6 separate regions of the Homo sapiens genome follow, and regions 1, 2, 3, 4 and 5 are each linked to region 6. The links are contacts of gene promoters, found by promoter capture Hi-C in blood cells and fetal thymus (Javierre and others, 2016). All regions are on one chromosome and are shown on one strand. The core of a region is centred on a gene start or on the middle of the fragment in contact, and the rest is flanking DNA. Distances in the headings are between cores, read along the strand shown. Region 1 holds the start of MYRF (myelin regulatory factor). Region 2 overlaps MYRF (myelin regulatory factor). Region 3 overlaps FADS1 (fatty acid desaturase 1). Region 4 overlaps DAGLA (diacylglycerol lipase alpha). Region 5 overlaps FADS2 (fatty acid desaturase 2). Region 6 holds the start of INCENP (inner centromere protein).

What was found. Contacts are between HindIII fragments. The CHiCAGO score rates a contact against its expected background, and 5 or more counts as called.
Region 1: a contact is called between the fragment with the promoter of MYRF here and the fragment with the promoter of INCENP in region 6, in 1 of 17 cell types (neutrophils). The highest score is 7.5, in neutrophils.
Region 2: a fragment that was not itself captured here is called in contact with the fragment with the promoter of INCENP in region 6 in 4 of 17 cell types (neutrophils, monocytes, erythroblasts and 1 more); the score reaches 9.1 in neutrophils.
Region 3: a fragment that was not itself captured here is called in contact with the fragment with the promoter of INCENP in region 6 in 13 of 17 cell types (neutrophils, total B cells, naive CD4 T cells and 10 more); the score reaches 14.2 in neutrophils.
Region 4: a contact is called between a fragment that was not itself captured here and the fragment with the promoter of INCENP in region 6, in 1 of 17 cell types (neutrophils). The highest score is 5.0, in neutrophils.
Region 5: a contact is called between a fragment that was not itself captured here and the fragment with the promoter of INCENP in region 6, in 1 of 17 cell types (M0 macrophages). The highest score is 5.8, in M0 macrophages.

Annotation. Positions count from the first base shown.
Region 1 is chr11:61,749,938-61,754,405 of GRCh38, forward strand. It overlaps MYRF (myelin regulatory factor), which reads left to right and starts at 2,699. Exons shown (of 27, transcript NM_001127392.3): 1 at 2,699-2,853. The coding sequence starts at 2,808. It overlaps MYRF-AS1 (MYRF antisense RNA 1), which reads right to left. Exons shown (of 4, transcript NR_026882.1): 4 at 4,092-4,468. RefSeq lists silencers at 2,489-2,628, 2,749-2,848. The HindIII fragment of the contact is 15,547 bases long and covers 1-4,468 here.
Region 2 is chr11:61,766,236-61,771,233 of GRCh38, forward strand. It overlaps MYRF (myelin regulatory factor), which reads left to right. Exons shown (of 27, transcript NM_001127392.3): 4 at 3,025-3,086; 5 at 4,011-4,290. Among named protein-coding and RNA genes, the nearest start is that of MYRF-AS1, 11 kb to the left of the region's middle. RefSeq lists enhancers at 1,867-2,443, 2,444-3,019. The HindIII fragment of the contact is 6,310 bases long and covers 195-4,998 here.
Region 3 is chr11:61,809,736-61,814,560 of GRCh38, forward strand. It overlaps FADS1 (fatty acid desaturase 1), which reads right to left. Exons shown (of 12, transcript NM_013402.7): 2 at 3,508-3,618; 3 at 2,736-2,933; 4 at 1,239-1,340; 5 at 1,016-1,144. Among named protein-coding and RNA genes, the nearest start is that of MIR1908, 3.1 kb to the right of the region's middle. The HindIII fragment of the contact is 1,254 bases long and covers 1,175-2,428 here.
Region 4 is chr11:61,729,560-61,733,996 of GRCh38, forward strand. DAGLA (diacylglycerol lipase alpha) reads left to right here. Exons shown (of 20, transcript NM_006133.3): 9 at 1,758-1,882. Among named protein-coding and RNA genes, the nearest start is that of MYRF, 21 kb to the right of the region's middle. The HindIII fragment of the contact is 4,149 bases long and covers 1-3,946 here.
Region 5 is chr11:61,840,153-61,844,619 of GRCh38, forward strand. It overlaps FADS2 (fatty acid desaturase 2), which reads left to right. Exons shown (of 12, transcript NM_004265.4): 3 at 182-379; 4 at 472-573. Among named protein-coding and RNA genes, the nearest start is that of FADS2, 14 kb to the left of the region's middle. RefSeq lists a cis regulatory region at 1,632-1,916. The HindIII fragment of the contact is 2,678 bases long and covers 1-2,607 here.
Region 6 is chr11:62,122,148-62,126,599 of GRCh38, forward strand. It overlaps INCENP (inner centromere protein), which reads left to right and starts at 1,864. Exons shown (of 19, transcript NM_001040694.2): 1 at 1,864-2,016. It overlaps LOC124902681 (a long non-coding RNA gene), which reads right to left and starts at 1,564. Exons shown (of 2, transcript XR_007062697.1): 1 at 1,510-1,564. RefSeq lists enhancers at 1,475-1,564, 2,095-2,164, 2,154-2,735. The HindIII fragment of the contact is 13,511 bases long and covers 1-4,452 here.

The DNA of each region.
Region 1 (4,468 bases), core at 1,449-3,948, 370 kb before region 6:
GGACAAAACCTCATTGTGAGGCACCCGCCGGCCTCAGCACCCCCTCCCCCAACCCCAGAACTGTCGTGGCATTGACCCTTTTCGGCGGGCCACCATGGGCCTGCTGACTGGGCCACATCTGGGGCTCAGGCATTGGCTGCCCCTCCCCCACGGCTGGCCACTGAGAACTGACAGGGAGGCTGGGGTGGGAGCGGCTTCCAGGCCTCTCACCCCATCCCCACGGGGTGGCCTGGCTTGTGCCCCACCCTCCCTGGGGATGCTGCAAGGCAGAGGTGAGAGTCCGAAGCTGGCTACGTTGGCATCTTGATCTGCCAGCAGTCCCCCACACCTCTGGCCTCTGTTTAGTGGCTTGTCAAACAGTGGTTGGGTGGGGTAGGTTTTTCCAGCTTTTACGTGCTGCCTTGAAGGGTCCCGAGAGGCTTCAAGTTGAGCCACTCTGAAGCGGGATGATTCTCTAGGTCTGGGATTCCAGAATTATCCGCTCCCAAGGTTTCAGAGGTCCAGGATTCTGTAGATTTTTGTTTGTTTGTTTGTTTGTGTTTGGAGACAGGGTTTTGCTCTGTCGCCCAGGCTGGAGTGCAGTGGTGCAAACATGGCTCACTGCAGCCTCACTGCAGCCTCAACCTCCTGGGCTCAAGCGATTCTCCTTCCTCAGCCTCCCCAGTAGCTGGGATCACAGGCATGTGCCACCGTGCCTAGTTAATTTTTTAATTTTTTGTAGAGACAGGGTCTTGCCATGTTGCCCAGGCTGGTCTCGAACTCCTGGCCTCAAGCAATCCTCCTGCCTCAACCTCCCAAAGTGCTGGGATTACAGGTGTGAGCCACTGGAGCCTGACTGGATTCGGTAGTTTGAAGATGCCACCATACATTCATTCAACACATTTATTGAGCACCTACTGTGTGCCAGGTCATGTTCTTGGTGTTGAAGCTATAGCAGTGACCGATACAGAAAAATATCTTGCCCTCGTAGGGCTTCCATTCTAGAGCAAGAAGGATAATAACAGAAACTAAATAGGAATCTTTTACATGGTGAGCAAGAAAGGCCTAGGTAGGGAGAACTGCTTTAGGTAGGCTGGTTGGGGACATGACATTTGAGCTGAGACCAACTGCTACAAAGAAGTAGCCATGTGGAGACAAGCATTGTAAACAGATGGAATAGCATGTGCCAAGGCCCTGTGGCAGGTGTAGGCCTTGCATGTTTGAGCAATGGCAAGGAGGTCTTGGTGGCTGTTATTCAGTGAGCAATGGAGAGAGGGGAAGAGCTGAGGCCAGTGGTAGAGGCGGGGCCTGAGAAACCAGAGCAAGACATTCAGATATTGTTTTGAGTGCAAAGGGAAACTTAGTTTTGCAAAGGAATGACATGATCGGATGTATGTTTCAGAAAGGGTGATTTGGGAGAACTGAAGGGGATATCAGTGAGACGAGAGGCTGTGCAAGTTGGGCAGGACAGAGATGTGGAGGCAGTCAGTCATAAGGGTGAAGGCAGGGGCACAAGGACAACCGCTTTATCCTGGACTTATATCGAGTTAGAACCTCCAGGTTTCATTATACCAGACAGGGCCACGGCAAAGGAGAGTTCGGATTCCCGGGGCAGCCAGGATTTGGCTCTGAACTTTAATGACCTTGAAACTCTTAGGCAGGGCGGGGAGCGGTGGCTCATGCCTGTAATCCCAGCAGTTTGGGAGGCCAACGTGGGCTGATCACCTAAGGTCAGGAGTTCGAGACCAGCCTGGCCAACATGAGGAAACCCCGTCTCTACTAAAAATACAAGTTAGCCCAGCGTGGTGGCGCCTGTAATCCCAGTTACTGGGGAGGCTGAGGCAGGAGAATCGCTTGAACCGAGGAGGCAGATGTTGCAGTGAGCTGAGATCGCGCCATTGCACTCCAGCCTGGGCGACAGAGCCGAACTCCATCTCAAAAAAAAAAGGAGCTTTTAGACCTGCATTGTCCAATACCACAGCCACACGTAACTGTTTAATTACAATTAAACAAAATGAAAAAATCAGTTCCTCAGTCTCAATAGGCACATTTCCAGTGCTCACTTGTGGCCAGTGACTACCATACTGAACAACACAGGGAACATTTCCATCATCACAGCCACAGGACAGGGCTTCCTGGCAGTCCTTAATGCATTGAGCCTCAGTTTCCCCATCTGTAAAATGCAGGTAACAACAGCATCTCCTTGATAAGGTGCCTGTGAGGAGTACATGAGATAATGCCTGTGTGGCCTGGCACATAACACACGTTCCCTAAATGCAGGTTGTTATTGTTGCTGAGCGGGGTGTGTGGGTGGCTAACGAGAGGGATGGGGGCTGTCTCTGAGGTTTGGATTCGGAATCGTGACATCTTGTCCCGTGCAAGACGAAGGCGAGGACGGCGAGGGCACACCCTTCCAGTCCCGACCCCACAGAGGCCAAGCGGCCCTTCGCCCCCACCCCGACCCGGGAAGGCCCCGCGCCCCTCAAGCCTGGGACGGTCTCGCGTCCCCCGACCCGGGACGGCCCCGCGCCCCGCAAGCCTAGGACTGCCCAGCGCTGAGCGCCGCCTGCAGGAGTCGGGAGCGTGGTGCCCGCGGCCGGGCTGGGCGCGGCGCGGGCCGGCAGGGGGCGCTGGGCGCGGCGGGCGGGGCGCGTGGGGCGGGCAGGGGCCGGGCCAGGGACGCGCGGGGGGCAAGCGCGGCGGCGGACCGGGCGGGACCGTAGCCGGAGCCCAGCCGGGACTGTCGCGCGGGCCGCGCCGGCGATGCCGCGCCCCCGGGCCGGGCTGTAGCGGGGCCGCGGCTGGAGTGTGCGCCGGGCAGGCGGGACATGGAGGTGGTGGACGAGACGGAGGCGCTGCAGCGCTTCTTCGAAGGTGAGAGACCGCGGGCTGGCGGCGGCGACCCTCTGGCGCTGGGAACCCCCGGCTGATCTCCCCGGGAACTGGGGCTCCTCGCTGTGTTTCCGCCTCCTCTGGCTGGGACCCTCCTTCAGGCTGGCACCAGCCCGCCAAGACAGGCTCCCGGGGCTGGGAGTCCCCCAGCGGTTACCACCCACCGCCGCTGAAGTTGGGCTCCCCCTCCCCGCTCCTCAACTCGCAGCTTCCTTGGGACTGTGTCCCCTTCCAGGTCCGGACTCCTTTGAGCCTTCCAGGACCCGGAACTTTCCCTAAATTGTGACACTCTCGCCCCCAGCAAACTTCCCGAGTCTGGGGACCCTCTACTTTGCTTCCCCAGAACCCCAAGCGGGATACAACCCCATTCAAGGCCCAGACCCCCGGTGTGCCTTCTAGGACCTTCCGTACCTCTTGAGGCTGGACCCCAGCCTGCTTCCCAGAATCTGTGACCCCCGCCTAGAGACCAAGACCCCCTGTGTGCCCTTCTGGTTGGCGCCATCCCCCATGACTTCTAGGAGCTGGGACCTCCCCACTGTGCTTCCATGAGGGTAGGACCACTTTCGAGCCTGGATCCCCTTGGAGACTGCCACCTGCTTTCCACAATGCTGCCTAGTGACTGCTCTCCTGTTTGGGGCTGGGACCCCCCTCCCTAGCATGCTCTCCTGGGGCTGGAACCTTCTTGAAGCTGACATCCCTGCCACCGGTCACCTCTGCTCTCTGAGACCCTTCTAGTGCTGTGAACTGCATCCCACCAGCCCTCTGAGGCTCCTCAGCACTATGTCCCCCCAACCCTGGAGCTGTGCCTCTCTGACCTCGCCCCCTCAAAGAGTGACCTCACCCCCACTTGACCGAAAGGAGCCCTCTGGGGTGGAATTGACATACACCCCATAATATCTTCTTCTGCCCCCACCCCTACATTGGTTTTGGAGGTCTGCTCCTCCATCTAACCAACTCCCTGTCTTTTCCTGGACGACCCCTGCCCCTCCTGCAGGGCCACCACTCCTCCTGGTGCTGGGTTCTGGAGGGATGGGACCGCAGTGGGAGGGGGAGGGGAAGTTCTGGCTGACTGCCTCCCAGCCCACTCCGCTTCTCAGAACCTCCCTGGAACATCTAGCCAGACCCTCTGGCCCCCTTTTGTGCCCCTGTCTACCAATGCAGCGAGCCCAGCCCCTGCCCCGAGCTCCCTCTAGTCCCTAAGGCCACATCCTGCTCCTTGGTGCATTGAGAACCTTCCCTTCATGTGTGAACCTATCAGGGCTACAGGGCAGGGAACCAAGGCCCAAGTTTCAAGCCCCAGATTCCTGTGGAGTCCTGTGGAGGAGAGAAGCAGGTCTTCCGGTGCCTCAGTTTCTCTCCCTCTGTGACTTGGGAGGCAGGAACCCTTGTTCACACCTGCTGGCTGAGCAGCCCAGGCAGGGGCACCCCTAAGCCTCAGTCATCCCACTCCAGGATTCTGGACACCCCACAGACCCAGAACCCAAGAGTTCAGGCTTGGACTAGATTGAATGGTTGACTCTGCATCAGGTGGGCCATCTGAGGGTCTTAGGCAGCCCTGCATCTGTCCCGGGGCTCTGGCTCTCCCCAGACACTGTTG
Region 2 (4,998 bases), core at 2,100-4,599, 350 kb before region 6:
GGAGTAGGGGGATACAGCGGCATAGGGGCAGGCAGGGAGCAGGGCTGTGGCCGTGACCTGGGAGGTGCTAGACACTGGCCTGGCATGGGATGGGCTGGGTGACTGGCTGTGCGTGGGCAGGTGAGGGAAGGGAGGATGAGTCCAGGTCAAGGGGGGACTCCTGGGCTTTGTTCTGAGGCAGTGGGCAGCCACAAAGCTTCTAAGCATGGGAGTGATGAGGGCTGACGTAAGTGCTAGAAAAATCTCGATGCTGTGTGGAGAGTGGACAGGAAGCGGCGGGACTGGAGGCTGTGACTGTTTACCTTCATGGGAACACCTGCATACCCGTGCACGCGCGCCAAGCCCACCCACTTACGCATCCAGCTGACGTGTACTGTGGCCACAGGAGCTGGCCCATGGCTCAGATGTGGCACCTCAGTTCCCCCCTACCCAAGCAAGCCTCATGGGGCCCAGAACCCAGGCCCTTCCCCCCATCTTTCTGAGGAGTCCACACCAAGGGCCTGACCCAGGGCTGAACCTTAGGCCTGGCTTTGACCAAAGGTTCCAGGCAGCCACCCGGCCAGCCAGACTCCAGGGCAGCTCCCGGGGCACATGCTCACAGCGGGAGGCTGGGAGCATGGGTCTGCAGGGGAGCTCAGGGCAAATGTAGGGGCCCCTGTCTCTGGGTGGAAGAGCATTAAAACACTAGGTGCATGAACTCTGTGTTCAGACAGCCTGGCTCCAACTTCAGCTTCCCCATTTATCAGCCGTCTGCCTCGGTAACCCATGGCCTCAGTTTCTTCTGTGAAGTGAGCCCTCAAATGCTTACCCCTCAAGATTATCGTGGGAAGCAACAAGGGCACAGAGGATGCCCTGGGTGCATGGTGGCCATGGACACATGGCCGGCCGTGCTTCCTGAGCTCCCTGGCTTTTGGGGAGAAGGGAGTGGAGGCCAGGCTTGGGGTGCCAGGGGTGAACCTTTGCTGCAGAAGGCAAACTGTTTGCTTGAGGCTGTGAGGCTGTTCCTAAACTACAGGCCCCTGGGGGCAGAGGGAGGAGAACTAACATTTGGTAAGCGCCTGCTGGTGCCCACTGCTGTATCATGTGCCTATGATTGCGTGAGCTCATCAGCCTTCCTGGGTATCCAGCTCCTGGGAGACCCCACAAGGAGCCCTGGCCACTGCTACCGTCAGGATTTTAATGGCACACTGAGGCTCAGAGAGGGAAAGGGGCTTGTCCAGAGCCACACAGGGACTCTGTGGGCAGGGCCACTCCAGGAAGGGACCCAGGGCCAGACCTGAGTCTAGGTGATAAACAAGACAGACATGAGGCTGGGTGTGGTGGCACACACCTGTAATCCCAGCACTTTGGAAGGCCAAGGTAGGCATATTGCTTGAGCCCAGGAGTTCAAGACCAGTCTGCAACATGATGAAACCCCATCTCTACAAAAAATACAAAAATTAGCTGGGTGTGGTGGCGTGTGCCTATAGTCCCAGCTACTCGAGAGGCTGAGGTGAGAGAATAGTTTGAGCCAGGGAGGTCGAGGCTACAGTGAGCTGTGATCATGCCACTGCTAGGGACAGAGTAAGACCCTGTCTCAAAAAAAAAAAAAAAAAAAAAAGGCCAGGTGCGGTGGCTCATGCCTGTAATCCCAGCACTTTGGCAGGCTGAAGTGGGCAGATCACTTGAGGCCTGGAGTTTGAGACCGGCCTGGGCAATATGGTGAAACCCTGTCTGTACTAAAAATACAAAAATTAGTTGGGTGTGGTGGCGCATGCCTGTAATCCCAGCTACTTGGGAGGCTGAGGCACAAGAATCGTTTGAACCTGGGAGGTGGAGGTTACAGTGAGTGGTGATTGTGCCACTGGACTCCAGCCTGGGTGACAGAGCGAGACTCTGTCTCAAAAAAAAAAAAAAAAGAAAGAAAAGAAAAAAAACAGACACACGGCTCTGCAGTGGCTCCTGAAGCCTAACTGGGGAGAGGTATTCACCAGTACATCTCCAAGTAGAGGAATAATCAGGTGCCAGAGGAACTTAAGAGGAGAGAACACAAGGTGCTGTGGACTTGGGGCATGGGACTGCAGGGACTGCAGGGTGTGAAAGACCTTAACACATTACAGAAGGCCTGGCCATTGTCAGGGAAGTACAGGACGGAGTGGCAGCCCAGGGGGCCTGAGGCTGTGGCGAGGAGTATGGGTTTGAGTCCCCATACACGTTTTTGTATCATTCACACAAAACCTGCAGGGTCTGTGTTCTTGAATCGTTGTATAGGTTTCTACATGAGGCCCCGAAGGTGGGTGGGTGGCTGGCACAGGGATGCAGGGGGACTCTGGAGCCAGCCCCAGGGCTGTGTCCACAACAGGGCCATGGCCTCTCTGGCAGTTCCCTGGGCATGGGAATGGGGAGTTGCTCCAGATGTGGGGACCAGGGATGGCCAAAGAGCTGGATCCCATATGGCCACAGCCTTCCACTTGCTGGGTGAGCACAGGGTTCACGCAGGACGTGTTGACCTCTTGGGTTGAGTTTGTTCTTTTTCCTGAACACTGATAAAAGTGAAACCTGCAAGAAAAAAATAAACCCAGGCCCGGTGGTGCTGGCTCCCTTCCCAGTCCACACCTGCCTCTGGTGGGGCAGCCCCCCATGACCTGCTGAATGCCCTGAGGCCCAGCCCCCTAGGGCCCTGTGTTTCCAGGAAGCTGTGGGGCTTCAGTGGGTGCAGGAAGAGAGAAGAAGTCCTGGCCTTCGGTCTGGGGCGGGAGTCTTTGAGTCCCTGTGCCATCATCAAGGACACTAGTAACTGCCCCCCAAGTGCCCTGTAGGTCTGAGGGGATCCTGGGCGGTCCCCTACCCACAATTCGGCCCCAGGCCCTGCCAGGCACCCCAATGTGGGTGGTGCGGAGAAATGCCCCTAAGGGTGGATGTGACGAAACCTCAGTGTCGCCAGCTTCTGGGGGGCTGTGGGACCCTACCACGCAGAGAAGCTGCCCAGCTGGAAGGCAGAAGCTCAGCTGCTCACCCCCCGGCCCCTTCCCCTGGCTCTCGCAGCACACTGCCGGACTCTCCCCCAGACTCGGGCTCCGAGGCCTACTCCCCCCAGCAGGTGAATGGTGAGTCCAGCGGGCACCGCCCTCCTGCTCCAGGGTTTGGGCAAGTAGTTGGGGCGGCCTTATCAGGGAGGTAGGGGAGGAGGGAGGGGGCCAGCGGCTGCCCAACGGGCTGAGATTATCGCTGGTCAAATACTCCCTGGCGCTTGGCTATTGTTTCCCCACGGGCGGGTGGGGAGCCTGGCCCTGCCTCTGAGCAAGTATCCCCGCGGTGATGCCACCCGCCTGCCCGCCTGCGCCATCATGGACGCACCCTTCGGCGGTAAGTGGGTGGCTGGGGAAGGCCGTGGGTGCAGCCTGGGTGCAGGCTTCCCAGGCCGGGCCCACCTCACCTTAGAGGGTGCTCAGGGGTGCCCTGGCCCCCAGGTGGCCAAGAGCAGAACCACCGCGGGAGCAGGCTCCCCGCAGTCCGGATTGGGGTCAAGAGTTCTGTTTATCTTACCAAAAACATCCCTGGAATGCCTCCTGGGGAACAAAGGGAGCTGGGGCCTCCCCGCTCAGGCTGGGGGGCTGGCCCCTGAGAGCCCAGAAGAGGGACTGCCTGCCGGAGAGGGGAACACTGGGCAGGCCTGGGCTGGGGGTCTCCGGAGACGCCTTCCTGAGGCCCAGAGGAGGAGCAGGCCTCAGAGGAGATGGGGACGGAGGGGGACCTTTAGATTTGGGTTGGATTCTCCTGGTCCAGCCTGGGGGCAGGAGGTGGCTAGGATGAGGTGAAAGGCTGCCCCTCCTTGGGCAGGTTTGTGCCTCCCTGCCCAGGCCTCTAGTAGGTGGCTGACCAACGGCCCTCCCACCTAGGGTAGGTGGGGGGCAGCCCCCGGGCTTGGCTCAGGACGGGGTGGAAGCAGGAGACTCTGCCTTGGGGAGGACAGTGCCCAGGAGCCTGAGTGAGGTTGGTCTCAGATGCCCGCTCCCCCATCTCTCCTGCAGAGCCCCACCTCCTGCGCACGATAACCCCTGAGACACTGTGCCACGTGGGAGTGCCCTCCCGCCTGGAGCATCCGCCCCCACCTCCAGCCCACTTGCCAGGCCCCCCGCCACCCCCACCACCCCCACCTCACTACCCTGTCCTGCAGCGGGATCTGTACATGAAGGCCGAGCCCCCGATCCCCCACTACGCTGCCATGGGGCAGGGGCTGGTGCCCACTGATCTTCACCACACCCAGCAGTCCCAGATGCTGCACCAGCTCCTGCAGCAGCACGGAGCTGAGTAAGACGTGGGTGGCTGGCTCCATGGGGTGGGAAGGTGGGGTACAGGGACCAGGGTGGGCAGGGCGGCGGGCAGGCCAGAGAGGGAGGTAGGGACCGGGATGCACCCAGGGAGGGCAGAAGGCTCTGCAGGGCAGATGGGGGTAACATATTTATACATGTTTACCCAGCAATACCTTGAGGGGTTTACAGCCATGGCTAATTGCTCACAACTACCTTATCTGGTGGGCACAGGTAGGTAAACTGAGGCTCTGATGGGGGAAATGTCCCGTCCAGATCATGAGCCAGGGGCAGAGCCAGGACTGGGCCCGGGGCTGTGCTCTTACCCAGACCCCAGTGATTTTGCAGCTGTCTCATGGAACCCTCAGGTTTCTGAGGAGTCTTCTTCCTAGACCCAAGCCCCCGACTCTGACTCAACCTGCACGATTGTCTTTTCATCTGTTTTACATGTGGAGATTCCATGAAAGGTTTAGTTCAAAGGAAGGTTCTGCTGTCAAAACATTTTGTAAACCAGAAGGGGAAGGAGTGCCGTGCGGAAGCTCCCCTTCCCTGGTTTTTGTGGCCCAGGCCCTCTGTGGCTTGTTTCTGATCACAGGGCCTGCTCTCCATAGAGCCCCCACTATAAAGGGTGACCTTGAGTGTGACACTGCAGGCAGGGACAAACTCATTCATTCCTCAAGCGATTGCTGTGATTCTGTAAGCCAGCCCT
Region 3 (4,825 bases), core at 552-3,051, 310 kb before region 6:
CGTCATCTGCATAGTACTGACCATAATGGTATCGGACATGTAACAAACCCAAGTCCATGCTCATGATGGGAAAATAAGAACATTATGGACAGGTGGGGCATGAGCCTCAAGCTATGAGCTCCTCATGCCAGGCCAACCAGTGCTGCCAAAGCCCTTTCAAAGTTCTCATGGCCAGGGGCGAGAGGAACGCCAGGCTACCTTGAACTCATGCCTAGAACTGAAATGTGTTTTAACGACAATTTAATTCCTCGCAAGCTGAAATGTCACAAAGTGGAGGAGGTGGACCTGGAAGAACTCTGCAGCCTACAGCCTTGGGACAAAGGGCTTTAAATGAACTTTTCAAAGAATTCTGCTGGCCTTTTAGAACCTTCCATTGCCTAATGCTCACTAAAAGCTCACCAGATCTCCACCCCCAGGCATTATTCCTTCAGCAGCTACATTATTTCTGCTTACAACTTCAGACGACATCTCAAACCCAACGCTGACCACCCAGGAAATCAGGCTGGGGATCAGCAGGGTGGGAAGAAGTACTCAGTGAATGAATGTTCCAGATATTGGACATGAAAGAAGAGTAAGACAGTCCAGCCCTGGACAGAGAAGACTGTGACAAGAAGGATACCTAAGTGTGGGAGAGAAATACAAAGTGCAAGGGGAATACTTGCCTGGGGCAAGAGTGTCAAAAAAGCACCTCCAGGAGGTGCCATCAGCACCTTCAAGGATAGGCTATCTCATCATTTGGATCCTTCTGGTCATCCGCTGGATCCTTTGCAAAATGAGGTGCCTTTTATGCAGTAACGGTTTGCTGACTGAACTCTCTAGGGAGGATGGTGACTCCCTCCTGGGCAGCCCCCATCTATTGCCTGTTGCCTTCCAGAACTTCCAAAATGGCAAAAGCCCCAGCCAGCCCAGCCCCAGTGTCTTGCCCACACTGACAACATCGTGGGCATCTTCCCCAACTCCCCTATGTTGGCTGCCTCCTATTCCCCAAGACCTTTCCACTGATACCTCCACGCACCTCCACAGAGAGGATCTTCCCCAAGGCAAAGAAGAAGGGATGCATGTTGATGTCTGGGTCTTTGCGGAAGCAGTTGGGCTTGGCATGGTGCTGGAAGTGCATGTGGTTCCACCAACTGGCGGGGGCCCCCTACAGAAAAGCAGGGACACGAGTATGAAAAGCTTCCCCCAAGGCAGCCCTTCATTGCCTGGAGTTTTAGAGAGCTCCTCCCCATCCCACTGACCTTCAGGTGGCCAATCACAAAATGATGTAGCAGATGGTTCCACTTTGAGGTGCTGAAGACCGACAGGTGCCCAAAGTCATGCTGCAGCCAGCCAGCCTGGGCCTAGGTGAGAAGAGTCAACACTGAGAGCAGCCCACCAGCCCCAGTGTCGCCTTCACTGACCTCGATGCCTCCTTCAGCCTCTCCCACTTCCTTCATCTGCCAAGGCCTGTGATGCACCTCAGGAGTCAGGAAACATGGGTCCTAGTTCTGCCTCTGCCACTGACTCACACGTGAGTTGGGGCAAATCACCATCCCTTCTCTGTTCTTCTGTTTCGCCAGCTCCGAAGCTCATGACTTTTTTTTTTTGAGACAGTTTTGTTCTTGTTGCCCAGGCTGGAGTGCAATGGTGCGGTTTCAGATCACTGCAACCTCCGCCTCCTGGGTTCAAGTAATTCTCCTGCCTCAGCCTCCCAAGTAGCTGGGATTACAGGTGCCCGCCACCAAGCCTGGCTGATTTTTTTGTATTTTTAGTAAGAGTCGAGGTTTCACCATGTTAGCCAGGCTGGTCTCGAACTCCTGACCTCAGGTGATCTGCCCACCTTGGCCTCCCAAACTGCTGGGATAACAGGCGTGAGCCACCATACCTGGCCTGTTTTGAGAGTGTCGCTCTGTTGCCCAGGCTGGAGTGCAATGGTGCCAACTCGGCTCACTGCAACCTTCGCTTCCCAGGTTCAAGCAATTCTCCTGCCTCAGCCTCCCATGTAGCTGGGATTACAGGCACCCACCACCACTCCCAGCTAACTGTTGTATTTTAATAGAGACGGGGTTTCACCATGTTGGCCAGGTGGTCTTGAACTCCTCACCTCAAATGATCTGCCCATCTTGGCCTCCCAAGGTACTGGTATTACAGGCGTGAGCCACTGTGCCTGGCCTTTTTGTATTTTTAGTAGAGGTTTCACCACGTTGGCCAGGCTGGTCTTGAACTGAGATCAAGTGATCCGGCCACCTTGGCCTCCCAAAGTGCTAGGATTACAGACATGAGTCACCACACCTGGCCTGAAGCTCATGACTTATGATGGACTGACATCTAGAATACAGAAAGGACTGAAACATGAGCAGAAGGCTTGCCAAATGGGTCCTGACAGTCAAGAATTAGCGCTCAATCATTATTAACATATTGGGCAATGTCAGTGGTGGGGAGGGAGCCAAGCTTTGCTAAGAAACCAGAAACTTGGCTCCTGGCACAGGTGGGCTGTGGCAGAGAACAAACCGCATAGGAAGAAGAGAACCCTTGGAGAAGCAGCTAAAAAGGCAGTGAGAGAAATGAAGATGTCCATGTGGCTAAAGAGCAGACAGGTCAAGACAGCAGAATGCATGTTCCTGCACTCACTCCTGCATACCTTCAGATCTGCCCTGCTTGGAGGGCAGGCACTCTTGGCCTTCCTCAAACACCCAAGGAGCTTTCCCCAGGGATGCTGAGCATTGCTGTGCACTTGACAAGCCAAAGGCTCTCACCTGAACTGCACTGAGCAGCACCGCACAGAGGAGGAAGGGCAAAAAGGACGTCCCAAAGACCCAAAGGGTGAGCCAGGCTGCACCATCCAGCAGCAAGATGTGCAGCAGGTACAGCAGGAAGAAGACATGGTTGGCCTTCATGAGCCCCATCCGCTCCACTGTGGCCCGCAGCTCCCGGAACTCATCTGTCAGCTCTTTCTGCAGAAGAGGAAGAGGAGCTGTTATTCTTCTCATCTGCACCCCAATGCTACTGGAGACAAGGGCCCTCTCAGGCTCAAGGACCTCCCACTGAGGTAGCTGTGGGAAGTCCACAGTCCTAGGCAAAGATACCACGACAATGAGGATGACAGGAGGAGGTGCCATGGGATAGTGCCTAAGAGTTCAGGGGACTAAGTCCTTGCTCTGCCATTTACTAACTGTGTGATCCTTGGCTGTGTTGCTTAACCTCCCTGAGCCTGTTATCTCATCTGTAAATGTGTAAGAGTTATGAGTTTATGCTTGGTGCATAGTAAGTGCTCATATGATAACAATGATGATAACAATGATGGCAGCCATGGTAGTGGCAGCCTTGGGGGAGCCATAGGTTGCAAAGCCATGCTCCCTTGGGCCTGTGACCTCATGACTATGCAAGAGAAGCAGGGACCTCAAGACTCCCCAGAGCTACTACTGACTGTGATTACTATGACTGTGATCCCATCTAGACTCTCCTTCCACCCCCTCTCTGTCCCCCTCAACAACCAATAGTTGCGACATAGCAAACACAGGGTCTTACATTCTTGGTGGGCTCAAAGCTGGGCTGCTCTGGAGACAGTTCTCCAATCAGGAGAGAGTTCATATACTTCTTCACAAGGCCCTTGTTGATGTGGAAGGCCACAAAGGGATCCTGCAAGTGCCGGGAGAAGATGAAAGGTGAGGGAGCCAGCCCCCTGGACTCCGGCAGTGTTCGCACCAAAGGCCATCCTCCTGCCCGCCAGAAGGCTGTACCCAAGTTGAAGTGAGAGGTGAAGCCAGATGGACTTCCTGGGTCGAGTGCAGACTTGGAGAACTTTTCTGTAGCTAGAGGTTTGTAAAATGCACCAATCCGTGCTCTTTAGCTAGCTAGAGGTAAAATGGACCAATCAGCACCCTGTAAAATGGACCAATCAGTGCTCTATAAAATGGACAAATCAGCAGGACATGGGCAGGGACAAATAAGGGAATAAAAGCTGCTCCCGGCCGGGCGCGGTGGCTCACGCCTGTAATCCCAGCACTTTGGGAGGCCAAGGCGGGTGGATCACGAGGTCAGGAGATCGAGACCATCCTGGCTAACACAGTGAAACCCCGTCTCTACTAAAAATACAAAAAATTAGCCGGGCGAGGTAGCGGGCGCCTGTAGTCCCAGCTACTCGGGAGGCTGAGGCAGGAGAATGGCGTGAACCCCGGGGGAGGGCGGAGCCTGCAGTGAGCCGAGATCGCGCCACTGCACTCCAGCCTGGGCGACAGGGAGACTCCGTCTCAAAAAAAAAAAAAAAAAAAAAGGCTGCTCCCCCTCACACCCCCCAACGTCCAGCAGCGGCAACCTGCTCGGGTACCCTTCCACGCTGTGGAAGCTTTGTTCTTTGCTCTTCACAATAAATCTTGCTGCTGCTCACTCTTTGGGTCCACGCCACCTGTAAGAGCTGTAACACTCACCGCGAAGGTTCATGGCTTCATTCTTGACGTCAGCGAGACCACGAGCCCACCTGAAGGAACCAACTCCTGACACAGAAGCACAGGCCATCTCCCTAGGCCCAGCTGCCTTTTGAGGGTGCTCCCAGGTGTCCACAGTTTAAGATCACCGAGTATCTGCTCTAGTTAGAAGGATGCATCAAGGAATGGGAAGCATTGGCTGAGGGGAACCACTAAGAAACACCTGCCTGGGCTGGCCTTTCCCCTGGGTGTGTCCACAGACAGCTTTTGCCCAAGAATTTCAGTATAGGTGAGAAACAGGAGAGATGGGTGGGGCTGTGTCGGGCGTTGGTTCCTTCCGGCGGGTATGGTCTCACTGACTTCAAGAATGGAGCCGTGGACCTTCCCGCTGTTATAGCTCTTAAAGGAATAACACTCTTTGC
Region 4 (4,437 bases), core at 622-3,121, 390 kb before region 6:
AAGCAAATGGCTGGAGCGTGCATCTGCTCTGATGCCTGTCGCTGCGACCTCCAGCAGGCCCCTCATCCCCTCTGAGCTGGATCCTGAATCTGTGAAATGACACTAGGCACACCTTCTACCAGAGCTGTGCTGAGAGGACACGAGCCATTCCCATCACAGTGCCAGGAAGCCTCGGTGCCAGCCAGGATGCTGATGGAAAGGATTCCGTCTCTTAGAAATCTCAGTCCTTTAGGCCACGTGTGCTGCCTTGTGCCTGCAATCCCAGCACTTTGGGAGGCCGAGGTGGGAGGATTGCTTGAGGCCAGGAGTTTGAGACCAGCCTGGGCAACATAGTGAGACCCTGTCTCTACAAAAAAAAAAAAAATTAGCCAAGCATGGTGGCACATGCCTGTGACCCCAGCTACTTGGGAGGCTGAGGTAGGAGGATTGCTTGAGCCCAGGAGATCAGGGCTGCAGTGAGCTATGATTGCCACTGCACTCCAGCTGCACTGTCCCTTAAAAAGAAGAAAAAAAAAAAACCAACACTCAGTCCTCTAGAAAAGCCTCAGTCCTCCCTGCCTGTCCCTACTCCCCACTAAAGCAGGCATTTGTATCCTCTCTAAAAATAGCCACATCCATAGTAAGTGCCCCAAACCAGCCCATTTCTGCTTGCCAGGCTCTGCCCTGGCTGTTCTCACCACCTTCTCCCTCCCACTCCTCACAGGGAGCGGGGAGGGCAGGCAGCTGTGACTCCCATCAAGTGACTCCCATCGAGGTGCCAGGGTCACACCTGCCACCTGGCAGAGGCTGCCAGGGCCCACCCCGCCCCCAGGGCTGCAGGGAGCTTCTGACAGGGAGAGGATAATTACCTCTCCACTCTCGTTCCTGAAGAGCAGCTGAGCTGGCCAGGGATGTTTCCACCCCTCCGGGCCCTGATCAAGGTGCCACCTATTTCACTTCACAAGGTGACTAACCACCCTCCTTAACTTTTACAAGGTGACTAATTCCCTCTCCCGGTGCCTGGGGCACTCGGGAAAGACTGGAAGCTGGCAGACACTTTGCTGGGGCACCCCTGCCTCTTCCTCCCTCCACCCCAGCAGCCAATAACCTCCTCAGCATCAACAGTGGCTGCTGGGCCTCAGACACACTGGCTTTCAAACTGGTGCCTTTCTCCCAAGAGATCCCAGTCTCCCACCAACGCAGCCCCTGCCCGGAGCCCTGGGAGCCTGCAGCTGGCTGAGTCAAGTTGAAGGCTCCCAATATTTGCAGTCAAAGAACCCAAGGGCCAGAGATTTGGTGATTGGTCTCCTGGCCTAGCGTGGCTGCCCTGTTGCCCAAGGCCCACACACGCCGCCCAGCTGGAGGGCTGGGGCCTCTCAGGGCTACATTTTCCCAGCATCAAGGGCCCTTCTCAGGGCTGATTGCCGAGGTGGGGGGATTACTACTCACATCCCTCAACTCTTCCCTTCTCTGGAAAACAGGCAAGGAAATGGACCAAGTGATTTTCTGTCCCCAAATCATTAATTCTGAGACTGGAGCAACAGGACAGGTCTCTGAGGATTCGTGTCCTGGTTGCATGGAGATAATTAGGGAAATGCAATTATCACCTGGAGGAGTGTCCTTCCTCCAAGGCCTGGGCCCCACACCTCAACAGGGGACCAGCAACCCCTCCCTGCCAGGGGTTGGGTCCGCAGGCTCCCACCCTGGGGAACTGCTGGGCCCTGAGGCTGTAGGCAGGAAGGGCAGGAGGTGACCGCCCTCTGCCTCCTCTCTTCTAGCAAGAGATGCTCCGCTACAAAGAGGTCTGCTACTACATGCTCTTTGCCCTGGCTGCCTACGGGTGGCCCATGTACCTGATGCGGAAGCCCGCCTGCGGCCTCTGCCAACTGGCTCGGTCCTGCTCGTGAGTACCCCTGTCCCATCCCCCAGCGATTGCACCTCTCCTCCCGGGTGGTGTGTGAGGAAGGGCTACCGGGCTGCGCCTACTGCTTTGCCCTGAATGGCTTCTTTTCTACACCTTCTCTGGGCCTCAACCTTTCTAGTTCTGTGTTATCCCTGAGCAGTGAAGTTGTAGGCTTCGGAGTCACACAGTTATGGGTTCGAATCCAGATGTTGTCACTTGCAGCCTGGGGCAAGTGGGTCCACCTCTCTGAGCCTCAGTTTCTTTATCTGCGAAGTGGAGATGTTGATACATACCTCGTGGAATTTTTTGGAGAGGGCTAGATGAGATATTGCATAACACCCACACTGCTGCCTCCCCTCCCCTTCTGGCGTTCTCTCTCTGCCCCCTCAGCCATTCCCTTCTGCCCACATCTTCCCTTCTCTCGGCTCCCCTCATGTGCTCTGCCTTTCTAGAAGAAAGGACTTTCCTAGTAGAGAGGCCCAATCCATAGAGGTCTTTGAAAAGGCACCAAGAAGGCCTGTTAGTTAAGGCTCCAACCTTCTTCATAGGATCTAGGAAAGGCCTTAGCCCCAGACCTGGCCTGCAGCCTAGCTCTGCGCTCAGCCCACCGCTTGGGGGCTGGGTGGACTCTGCATTCCTAAGTGGGCCAGAGAAGGGCGCCTGCTCCAGGAGGAACCCCTCCCTGTCCTGGGTGTCTCCGCCCTCAGCTCATGCCAGGCAGAAGGAGGACAGTTCCCTGGGCTCCCGTTCTGGAAAGGCTGGCATGCTGGGCAGCAGCTTCTTTCCTTGACACCCCTGCCCTTGGGACCCACAGCAGCCACACCCACTCTGCAGCGCCCTCCCTGTCCTCAGAAAGCTGGGTGGCTCTCGGGGCCTTATTCTCACCATCCCTCCAGCGACTGATCAGAGAGGACTAGAGCACCTCATGCCCCCTTCCCATCTTTGTCAGCTGCATGTGCCTGGCATTCTTGCCTGCATCCCTGGGAGTCCCAGCTGTGGCAGAGAACTCTTCAAAATGAGCACCAGGCTCCATTACTCACTGGTGGTGTGGGGACAGCTCTTAGAGCCTTTGTTTCCTAAACTGTAACAGGTGGTATCTGTCCTGCCTGCCCATAGGGTGTTTCAGAACCCAGGGTATCACTGGCAGGCAGGGCTCTCTGGTGCTCTGCAGACAGGAGGGGTGCTGGCATTTGTATTAGGTGCCTTAGTGTTGCAGAGAGAGCAGAGTCCCTAGACCTCATGAGGGCCCAGCCAGGCCCCTGCCTGGAAGAACCAGGTGCCTGTGGGGCAGAGAGAGGCAGGCCTGCAGCCCAGGGTGTTGGGAGGAGGCCAGAGTCCAGTGCCCCAGCCTGTCCATAACAGCCTGGCCAGAGGGAGAAGGGCTGCCCATCTGCCTCGGGCCCAGGCCTCTCCCCTGGCAGCAGTTCTCAGCCCATGCAGAGCACAGCGAGCCAGGCCTGCTTCTGGCTTGGCCCTAGCCCTGCCCTGGATGAGCCCCAGGGCCCTCCCATCCGGGGTGCTGGCCCTGCTCCCCTGACTGGTCCTCCTGGCCCACACATCACTGACTCAGAGGCAGCCCTGTCACCGGAGAAGCGAGGAGCCACTCGTTATTAAGAACCTATTATAGGCCAGACCATTTCTGCATCTTGGACCCTTGATCTCACACCAGCCTTGTGAAGTAGCTGTCACCACCTGCTCTTACAGAAGAGGAAACTGAGGCTTAGAATGGCTGAGTGACCTCCAGGCCCTTGCGGTCAGGAAGTGATACAGCAAGGGTTCAAACTCAAGCCTCCAGTCTCCAAAGGCCACACTGTTACAGCCTCATGCTCAGCTGAGGTTGGAGAGGGAACAGCTGCCGAGCACAGGAGCTCAGCCCCTAGACCCTGGCCCATCACCACTTGACCTGCAGTGTGGGGGACCATGCTCTCCCATTGTACATCGGCTTTGTCCCCCCAGCAAGCACTGTGGCTTTCTCAGCAAAGTCTCTCCCCATTGGAAAGTGTGTAATAGTCACTCAGGTGATGCTCTGAGTGAAGACAAACCTCCTAGCATCACCAGAATCCAAGCTTCTTAATAAAATCTCAGCTGTCATCCCGTGACAGCTGGCAGGCCCAGTCACGTGGGCTCCAGCGTCTGGTGCCTTAGCAGTTGGATGCTGGCTCCCTCTGGTGGCCTGAGGTGCCGCTGCACCTAGCTGGGTGCCCAGCTCCCAGGCTGCCTCATTCATTTCTGTGGGGAGGCTACTGTGTACCTGGCCCTGTTTGGGTGCTGGGGATACAGCTGTGGACCTCTCTGTGGTGCTCACTGCCCAGCGAGGAGGCGGACAGCGCATAGACAAGGCAAATAGGGCACATGGTGGAGCGGATGGGCACTTTGGACCCACATAAAGCCAGGTGCCTGGGATGGGGAGTGCTGGGGGCCTGGGGAGCCCTGGCTGTTAGATGAGGTGGCAAGAGAGACCTCACTGTGACAGGACGTTTGAACAGAGGCCCAGAGGAGCAAGGGCCAGGCCACGCTGTCTCAGGTGCTGCTGAACACGCTGGCAGCAGGTCAGA
Region 5 (4,467 bases), core at 19-2,518, 280 kb before region 6:
TGGGGCATGTGGTAACAGCAGCTATTGTAGGGACTCCTGGAGGGTCGAGGCTTGTGGCTTGGCCCCCTCTTGCCACAGCTTCTCTGGGTTGTGCATTGGCTGTTGAAATGGCAGCTCGAGACATATGTTCCCTCCAGAGTGGCTGGTGGCTGACTCCTTTCCCTGTGCTCTTGGTCAACAGTCAAAGATCACTGAGGACTTCCGGGCCCTGAGGAAGACGGCTGAGGACATGAACCTGTTCAAGACCAACCACGTGTTCTTCCTCCTCCTCCTGGCCCACATCATCGCCCTGGAGAGCATTGCATGGTTCACTGTCTTTTACTTTGGCAATGGCTGGATTCCTACCCTCATCACGGCCTTTGTCCTTGCTACCTCTCAGGTGAGGCGTGACACCCTCACTTCCCCTAGCTGACAGAGGCCTGGTGCCTGTTTGCTGAGGCTGTGACAGCACGTGTGACCCTCTCTCCCCAGGCCCAAGCTGGATGGCTGCAACATGATTATGGCCACCTGTCTGTCTACAGAAAACCCAAGTGGAACCACCTTGTCCACAAATTCGTCATTGGCCACTTAAAGGTAAGTGTCAGCAGCCCTGGGCATCTGTCCTGTTGGACAGCAGTTGAGACAGAGGGACCAGGATTCCTCTCTGCTCAGTGCTCTGAGGCTACAGGGTGACAAGGCAGGTGTGCCTATGCTGAGGGCCATGGTGACTCTCCATTCTGCTGACTTCCTGAGCCCTGTCTCTGGATCAGGTCCGAACCACAAAGCCATGGTGTACTACTCATTATGAAGACAGGCACACACCTTTCTTGTCTTTTGGCTCAGCGGATTGTATTTTTTGATGTTCCTTAGCTAAGGACTCATCTAACAAATCTGTTTTTGTTTGGGGACAGTAAAGTAGCAGTATTTTTTTTTTTTTTTGAGACAGAGTCCTGCTCTTGTCACCCAAGCTGGAAGCAATGGTGTGATCTTGGGTCACTGCAACCTCCACCTCCGGGTTCAAGCAATTCTCCTGCCTCAGCCTCCCGAGTAGCTGGGATTACAGGCACTCGCCACCATGCCTGACTAATTTTTGTATTTTTAGTAGAGATGGGGTTTTGCTATGTTGGTCAGGCCGGTATCAAACTTCTGACCTTGTGATCTACCTGCCTTGGCCTCCCAAAGTGCTGGGATTACAGGTGTGAGCCACCGCATCCGGCCTGTAGCATCTTTTTTGATGAGTTGGTATGCTTCCTTTCACTGGGGATGTGAGCTCTTTAATACGTTGTGCTGGGTGTGGTGGCATGCACCTGTAATCCCAGCCACCTGGGAGGCTGAGGCAGGAGAATTGCTTGAGCCCAGGAGTTCGAGACCAGCCTGGGCAACATAGTGAGACCCCCCCCCATCTCTCAAAAAAAAAAAAGAAAAAGAAACACATTGTGCTCCTCTCTTCCCCTCAGAAGCCAAGAGGTACAAAGCAGCATTTGAAACAGCAACTATCTTTAGTCTGTGTTTTTGGTGCCCCCATTCTCTCCTTCCTCATCTGGCATTTATGCTTTTATCTTTATTTTAGCCTTCCGTTATATATGAGTCTTTTATCTCAAGCCACTTCAAATACTCTTTGGAAATAAGCGGGGTACAAAAAGTAAAAGTCATCCTATAAGGCCTCAGATAGGGGACACCAAACTACGGAATGATCAGCTGGCCCAAAGGACAAAAGTCATTAGAAGTGCAGGAGTTAAGGAAGTTCCACTCTCACCTCCCCCTAGATAAGGAAGCAGACCACAGAGTCTCAGCATGTTTGTAGAAAGACAAGCTGGAATTGCCAACTGCCTTGTTCTGATCTGACAGGCGTTATCTCCTCAGTTTTGAAAATGAGTCTTTGCCAACTTGCTCTCTGAAATAGACTATCCCCATCCCAGCCTGACCCAACAGTACCTGCTTCCTGAGAAAAGCTGGGTCCTAAAGAATCCATCCCTCCACACCCTGGCAAGGGACGAGCTACATGTGGGGTGTAGCTTATCCCCTCTTCCACCCAGACCGCAACGGGGCCCTTGGCTTGCCGGCTGCAGATCTCACTGGTGGCCAACCACCCCTGAGCTGGTCACCAGTTTCGCAGCGAGCAGCTTGCCTGGCCCTGAGCCTGAAGCGGCCTGAGAACCTGGTCTCTGTCCAGAATCTCAGGGGCAAAGGGAGAGGGTGCACATAGTGGAGTGCTTTGTTTCATTTTATACTCTTCTCTGTTGGATCAAACCCTCCTCAGTATGGCAAAGTAACATTTAACTCCTGACCCATGTTAGCCCCCACACACTTAACAAAGATGGGCTGTGTCCTGCTTCCAGATTCTGGGCAGGGGCCGGGCAGGGGGGATTGTTCCTGTCCAATTGCCCTCAGTCTTTGAGGGGCCCCAGAGCACGGCTGTTGCGTCAGGCGGGAGACGGGGCCAGGACAGAGGACTGGTCTCCATGTAGAACGTGGATGACAGCAAACAGGGTCCTTGGGCTTGGGGATGTGGGCTCCACTCATGGCCCACCAGCCCCCACTGGCTGTGTCCTTGGTGCTGTGTCACAGAGACAGGCCAAGGACATGGACATGTGGCTCACTCAGGGGTGCCCCAGAGCACGGAGGTCAAGCTTGCCTGAAATTGGCTCTAGCACTCGGCAGGTGCACAGCCATGGGGACAAATCTTGTAGGTCTGTGTCTCTTCCCATCACTGGGAAAAAGGGGACTGGCTACAGGGAGGTCCTCAAGGGCCTCGCCAACTCAGATGTCTTAGCACAGGCTGGAAAGACCTGTGAGTAGGTTACCAGGTGCTGTGAGAGGCTGGGACCCCCTTCTTCCTGTTGGCTGCACTGCTAATGGGATTTAATGGGAGTTCTTCACATCCTGACCTGTTTGCCTTCAGCCCGTGTCATGCCCAGTGGACATTTCTTCCAAAGTGTGATCTTTTACAAAGACGATTCTGAGGTTAAAACTCTTTCGTAGTTCAGCACTGTACTTAGGATGAAATGCAAACTTCAGCCAGGCACAGTGGCTCACGCCTATAACCTCAGCGCTTTGGGAGGTCAAGGCAGGAGGATTGCTTGAAGCCAAGAGTTTGAGACCAGCCTGGGCCACATAGCAAGACCCTGTCTCTACTAAAAATAAAAGAATTAGCCGGGGATGGTGGTGCATGCTTGTAGTCCCAGCTACTGGGGAGGCTGAGGCCGGAGGATGGCTTGAGCCTGGGATTTGAAGGCTGCGGTGAGCTGTGATGGTGCCACTACATTCCAGCATGGGTGACAGAGTGAGACACTGTCTCTAAATAAATAAATGCAAGCTGAAAGGCCCAGTGCCATCTGGGCGCTGCATCTGGAAATGGACATCACCAGACTTTCTGCAGCCTCATCTCAGGCCACCAGGGCTGGGATTAGGGTGAAACAAGTAAGGCACTCGCTTAGGGTATAAAATCTAAGGGGACACCAGACAAATTCTAAGGGGACACCAGACAAATTCAGTTATCAAGATAAATGATGTTTTAATGCAATGTGGTTTTGTTTTGTTTTTTGAGATGGAGTTTCACTCTTGTCGCCCAGGCTGGAGTGCAATGGCGTGATCTCAACTCACTGAAACCTCCGTCTCCCGGGTTCAAGCGATTCTCCTGCCTCAGCCTCCCGAGTAGCTGGGATTACAGGTGTGCGCCACTATGCCCAGCTAATTTTTTTGTATTTTTAGTAGAGATGGGGTTTCTCCATGTTGTCCAGGCTGGTCTTGAACTCCTGACCTAAGGTGATCCACCTGCCTTGGCCTCCCAAAGTGCTGAGATTACAGGCATGAGCCACCACGCCCGGCCTGCAATATGTTTTTAAAAAAATCAAAATTAATGCAAAAAAATCCACAATGAACAAAATATCAAAATTTTAAATAAAGATCAGGATGAACTGAGGGAAATGGAAAAACATGCAACCCTCTAAACATGTTCGTGTGTCATTTTTTAATGGTTGATTTTTTTTCCAGAGGATTAAAGTAGTTAAAAAAATATTTAACAATGAAGAAGTTGATGTATTAAAAGTCATAACATTCTAAGTGTAAATGCTTTATTTATACCAAAACAGAACTTATTATACTTTTGCTTCAGTTGAATGTAATTAGAAATTAGTTAAGACCGGGCGAGGTGGCTTGGCCGGGTGTGGTGGCTCATGCCTGTAATCCCAGCACTTTGGGAGGGTGACGCAGGTAGATCACTTAAGGTCAGGAGTTCAAGACCAGCCTGGCCAACATGGTGAAACCCTGTCTCTACTAAAAAAACAAAAATTAGCCAGGCGAGGGTGCTCGGGAGGCTAAGACAGGAGAATCACTTGAACCAGGGAGGTGGAGGTTGCAGTGAGCCGAGATCGTGCCACAGCCCTCCAGCCTGGGTGACAGAGTGAGGCTCCATCTCAAAAATAAAAAATAAACATAAAAATTATTTAAGCTAATCGCTTGGTTGACAGAAACCATCAAACTCAGCAA
Region 6 (4,452 bases), core at 614-3,113:
GTAACAGCAACCTTGACTCACAGAGTAAAGTGACTTTGTCTAAAGCAGTTTCTCAACAGCAGCAATTCTGGTATCTGGGGCCGGGTAATTCCTTGCTGTGGGGACTGTCTTATGCACTAGATGGCGTTCAGCAGCATCCCTGGCCTTTACCCACCAAATACCACTAACCCCTTCTCCCAAACCCAAATGAATTCACACACTGCCAAATGTGGGGGGCGGAGGTGGGATAAAACCTCCTCTGCATGAGAACCACTTCTCTCAAGAAACGTCCAGTACCAGGGTAGGTGACCAAGGATTCTGTCGCCCAAGAGATGACAGAAGGCTCTAGATAAACGCACACTCCGTTGCCATTCACAAGGCGTTTTGTTTTTACTTCTCAAAAGCGGCAGAGATTTTTTTTTTGAGACGGAGTTTTTTGCTTTTTGTGGCCCAGGCTGGAGTGCAATGGCGCGATCTCGGCCCACTGCAACCTCTGCCTCCCGGGTTCAAGCGATTCTCCTGTCTCAGCCTCCCGAGTCGCTGGGATTACAGGTGCAAGCCACCACGCCCGGCTAATTTTTTTTTGTATTTTAGTAGAGACAGGGTTCCACTGTGTTGCCCAGGCTGGTCTCGAACTCCTGAGCTCAGGCAATCCACCCGCCTCGGCCTCCCAAAGTGCTAGGATTGCAGGCGTGAGCCACCGCGCCCGGCCAGAGATTCTTTTTTTTTTTTTTTTTTTTTTTTGAGACGGAGTCTCGCTCTGTCGCCCAGGCTGGAGTGCAGTGGCGGGATCTCGCCGGCCAGAGATTCTTTATAGGACATATTAGTCCTTGTCTTTCCCCCCCCGCCTCCATATTGGAAAGATGAACTAATTGAAATATGACTTAGTAAAAACATTGTGCCAACTTGAAACCTTGATTTAGTAAAACATCTCAATGTTTAGATCCTTTGTCCAATGGTAGTATTTATCAGATGTATTCAGCTTGCTCAGAAAACCAAAAGGGCATTACAACCACAAAAGCAAAGAAAAATAAGAAAACGTCCCATGTTTGGATCTTGTTCTACTTGTAAAGATTAAATTGAAATGATTAGGCTTTTCGATTCATGAGCCAAATACCGTAACACCCTGGCCTTTGATGGGTTTGGATTTTTAACATTACTCCTGAGATTTCAGGAAGTGGGGTTACAGTTACACTCCTTATAGCTGCTAAGTGTATTAAGTTGAATGTAAGGATGCATAATATTGTTTGAATTGAGCCCCACTACCAATTCTTTAAAAAATGGCATGAATTCCTATACGTAAATGATTTGGTGGAACTATTCCATCATAATTTCTAAATTGTTTATATACCAAGGTAGCCTTAATTTGTATATGTTTCAGTACAATGAAATTTTACTCCCTCTGGGATGCTGTTTGGTTTGTATTTTGAGGAATGTTTTTCTCATGGGAAGAGGAACCTATGACTTCTGTACCTAGATAATTTGTTACATTAAAAAGCTGGTCTTTCAGCAATGTAAGTATATACATACATGTTTTTATGAGGAAAAAAAAGCAGCAGAGATCAGAAGACTGCCACCGTGCTTGGAGAAGAAAGAAAGCCGCGCGTGGCCTTCGCAGTGCTCGCCGGGACTCGTAGTTCCAGGTCTGCGGGCTCCTCCCAGGCGGGGATCTACTTCCTCTCTCGGCCGCGGCCGCAGCACCCGGAAGCTGAGGGGGCTTAAAGTCTTTCGCTTCCTTTCCCCGCCTCTTAGTCCCGCAGATTGCTAGTGGATATGGCCAATAGGAGGGCTGACTGGTACTTCCTGTTATTTGATTGGCTTAAAATTTTGCAACCGCCCGGACAAACTTGCCGAGGATTGGCTGAGCCTTCAGTTTTGAAAATCATAGTTTTCGCCCGCGCTGCGCCGCCTGGTTGCTCCTCCCGTGCGGTGAGTCCCGAAGGCCCGGAGCCAAGTGGGTCTGGGCAAGCGGGGCCTTACCTAGGGATACCACCGGACTTGGATCGGAGCAGCCTTCAGGGGACGTGGCGCAGTCGAGTGAGTGCGCGTGGGCGTGGGGATTGGGGGGTGGTTCGCGATTTTTTCCCCGGTCCTCTGCTCCGTCCCTGTCGACTCCGGACCAGGGTCGTGACTCCCCACCCCAGCCCCTGGCTACCTGGGCATATGAGGGTCACCTCTTCCAAGTGGCGAGGTCGCCTGCCTTGGTTCTCGGGCCCGAGATGCCTCCCACCCTTTCCACCTAGGCCCTCAGCTTCCTAGAGCATAGCCCCGTTCCCTCCGCTCCCGGCTGCTTGGCACCTTGTGCCTGTGAGGATTAGTGTTGACTTGGACGCGCAGGAAGCCCGAAACCAACCCGGTTGTTTGGCGGAATGATGCCAGATGGCATTTCTGTGCAGTTAAACCCCTCTCTCAACGCCCCCGCCCCCAGCTGAGCAGCATTTTAAACTGACCATTTCCGGAGGCTGGGCCGCCCCTTGTCACTCCCCAAGCCTGTTCGCTGTCAGCGGTTCAGTCTCATTCAGCTAACATGGGTTGCTCGCGGGGTTGCCCAGAGCCAAGACTGGGCACCTGCCTTTCAGAAGTTGATATCTAGAAGGCGGTATAGCCAGTGGTTAAGGGCACGGTTTAAAGGCGGTATAGCCCGTGGTTAAGGGCACGGTTCTATTTATGCCCCTGATTTACCGGCTGATTTTGACTTCTCTTTGCCTCAATTTCCTCATCTGCCCATGCGTATCCTCAAGGTTGTGGTGAGAATTAAATGAGATGATGTCTGACTCGGGCATGGAGTATGACTCAGTAAATGGGAGCAGCTGCTATGCGCTTTCTGCACAGAGGTGTGGTAGGCGCCCAACTTACAGCACCCTGAAAAGGACAGGAGTCATAGAGGAGGACGATGGGGCCTTCAGTCTGGTGTATGGTGTGGAAGAAGTGTTGGAGAGGAGGAAGACTGGAGAGTGTCTTCCTCGGTGAGGTGTTGAGTGCTCTTTATCTGTGTGCAGGTGCTTACATGGGTTGAAGAAGAGATTTTTGCTGCTCTTCCAGGAGCCTGATTCTTGGTACACTGATTCCTTCTTTTTCAGGGTCACCTCTGTTTTAACTTACGGTAACCCTTTTTAAATCGTTGCGCTAAGGTCTGCTAGAAGCAAACCTCCCCGTGAAAGAAGTCCAATTGCTTTCATGGACTTTGTGAAAGAAGCTCTCATCCACGTTGCCCATTTGAACAAATACTTTTTAAAAAGTTAGCCAGTTGTTGCTTTTCTCTGCAAACCTTTGGCTTCCTTAAACAGTTTTCTCTTTTCTGGCCTGAGGTCCTGCGCTTTGCCAGGGCTGTGGTCTGGGTGCAGAAGGGTTAGGGGAAGGTGAGGGATGACAGTGAAAAGGGCTTGCCCATGATTGGCTGGCTGCAGAGCCGAGGTTTCAGCCCAAAGCCTGTACGATCCTGCCCATTTGGCCCTGCCCTGATTATTGCTGCCCTTGGCATCTGGGAACAGGGGTTTTGAACATGTGTTGGTCAGTTCTAACCTGTGCAGATTAAGTTTATTTGGTGCCCTTTGTGTGGTGGGATGAGCACCTATAGGATGTTTATTTCTAGGTGTAGAGTTGATGGGTGGATTAATTCATTTAACAAATAGTCCTTGTTGCCAGGCACTGCTGTGCTCTGGGCATTCAACGATGAGCAAGACAGACAGGGGTTTGCCCTCAGAGAGCAATTGTTTAGTGGGCAGGGACAGGCAGTAAGCAACAGGTAAACAAGCACGCAAGTGCTCTGCAGAGAATTACAATCAATGAATGGGATCATGGCTGGGGCTACTTTAGATTGGTTTTCAGGTTTTCCTGAGGATCTGAGATCCAAGCCATGAGGAGTGAGCCATACAAAATGTGAGACAATGTTCCAGACGCAGGGCAGAGCTTGTTGAGGAACAAAGACTACTGTGTCCTTGAATCAAGCCTGAGGAAGTCCCATGAGACTGAAACCTGACCTGGTGCTACGCCCTGTGAGGGATCAAGGGGTCAGCAATTTATCCCTTCCTTACAAGACCTTCCATTGTAGGTGGGAGGCTGAGTTGTGCATGGTTTTTTTTTTTTTGAGATAGAGTCTCCCTCTGTTGCCTGGGCTGGAGTGCAGTGGTGTGATCTTGGCTCATTGCAGCCTCTGCCTCCTAGGTTCAAGCGATTCTCCTGCGTCAGCCTCCTGAGTAGCTGGGATTATAGGCGTGCACCACCACACACAGCTAATTTTTTTGTATCTTTAGTAGAGACTGGGTTTCACCACGTTGGCCAGGCTGGTCTTGAACTCCTGACCTCGTGATCTGCCCACTTCGGCCTTCTAAAGTGCTGGGATTACAGGCGTGAGCCACCGTGCCCGGCCAGTTCTTGGTTTTAAAGAGGTAAGTCAGGATGGTGGATCACTGCCATTGACTTGAGGCATGCAGTTTGTTGTTATGGCTTATGACCACCACCCATTCATTTGTT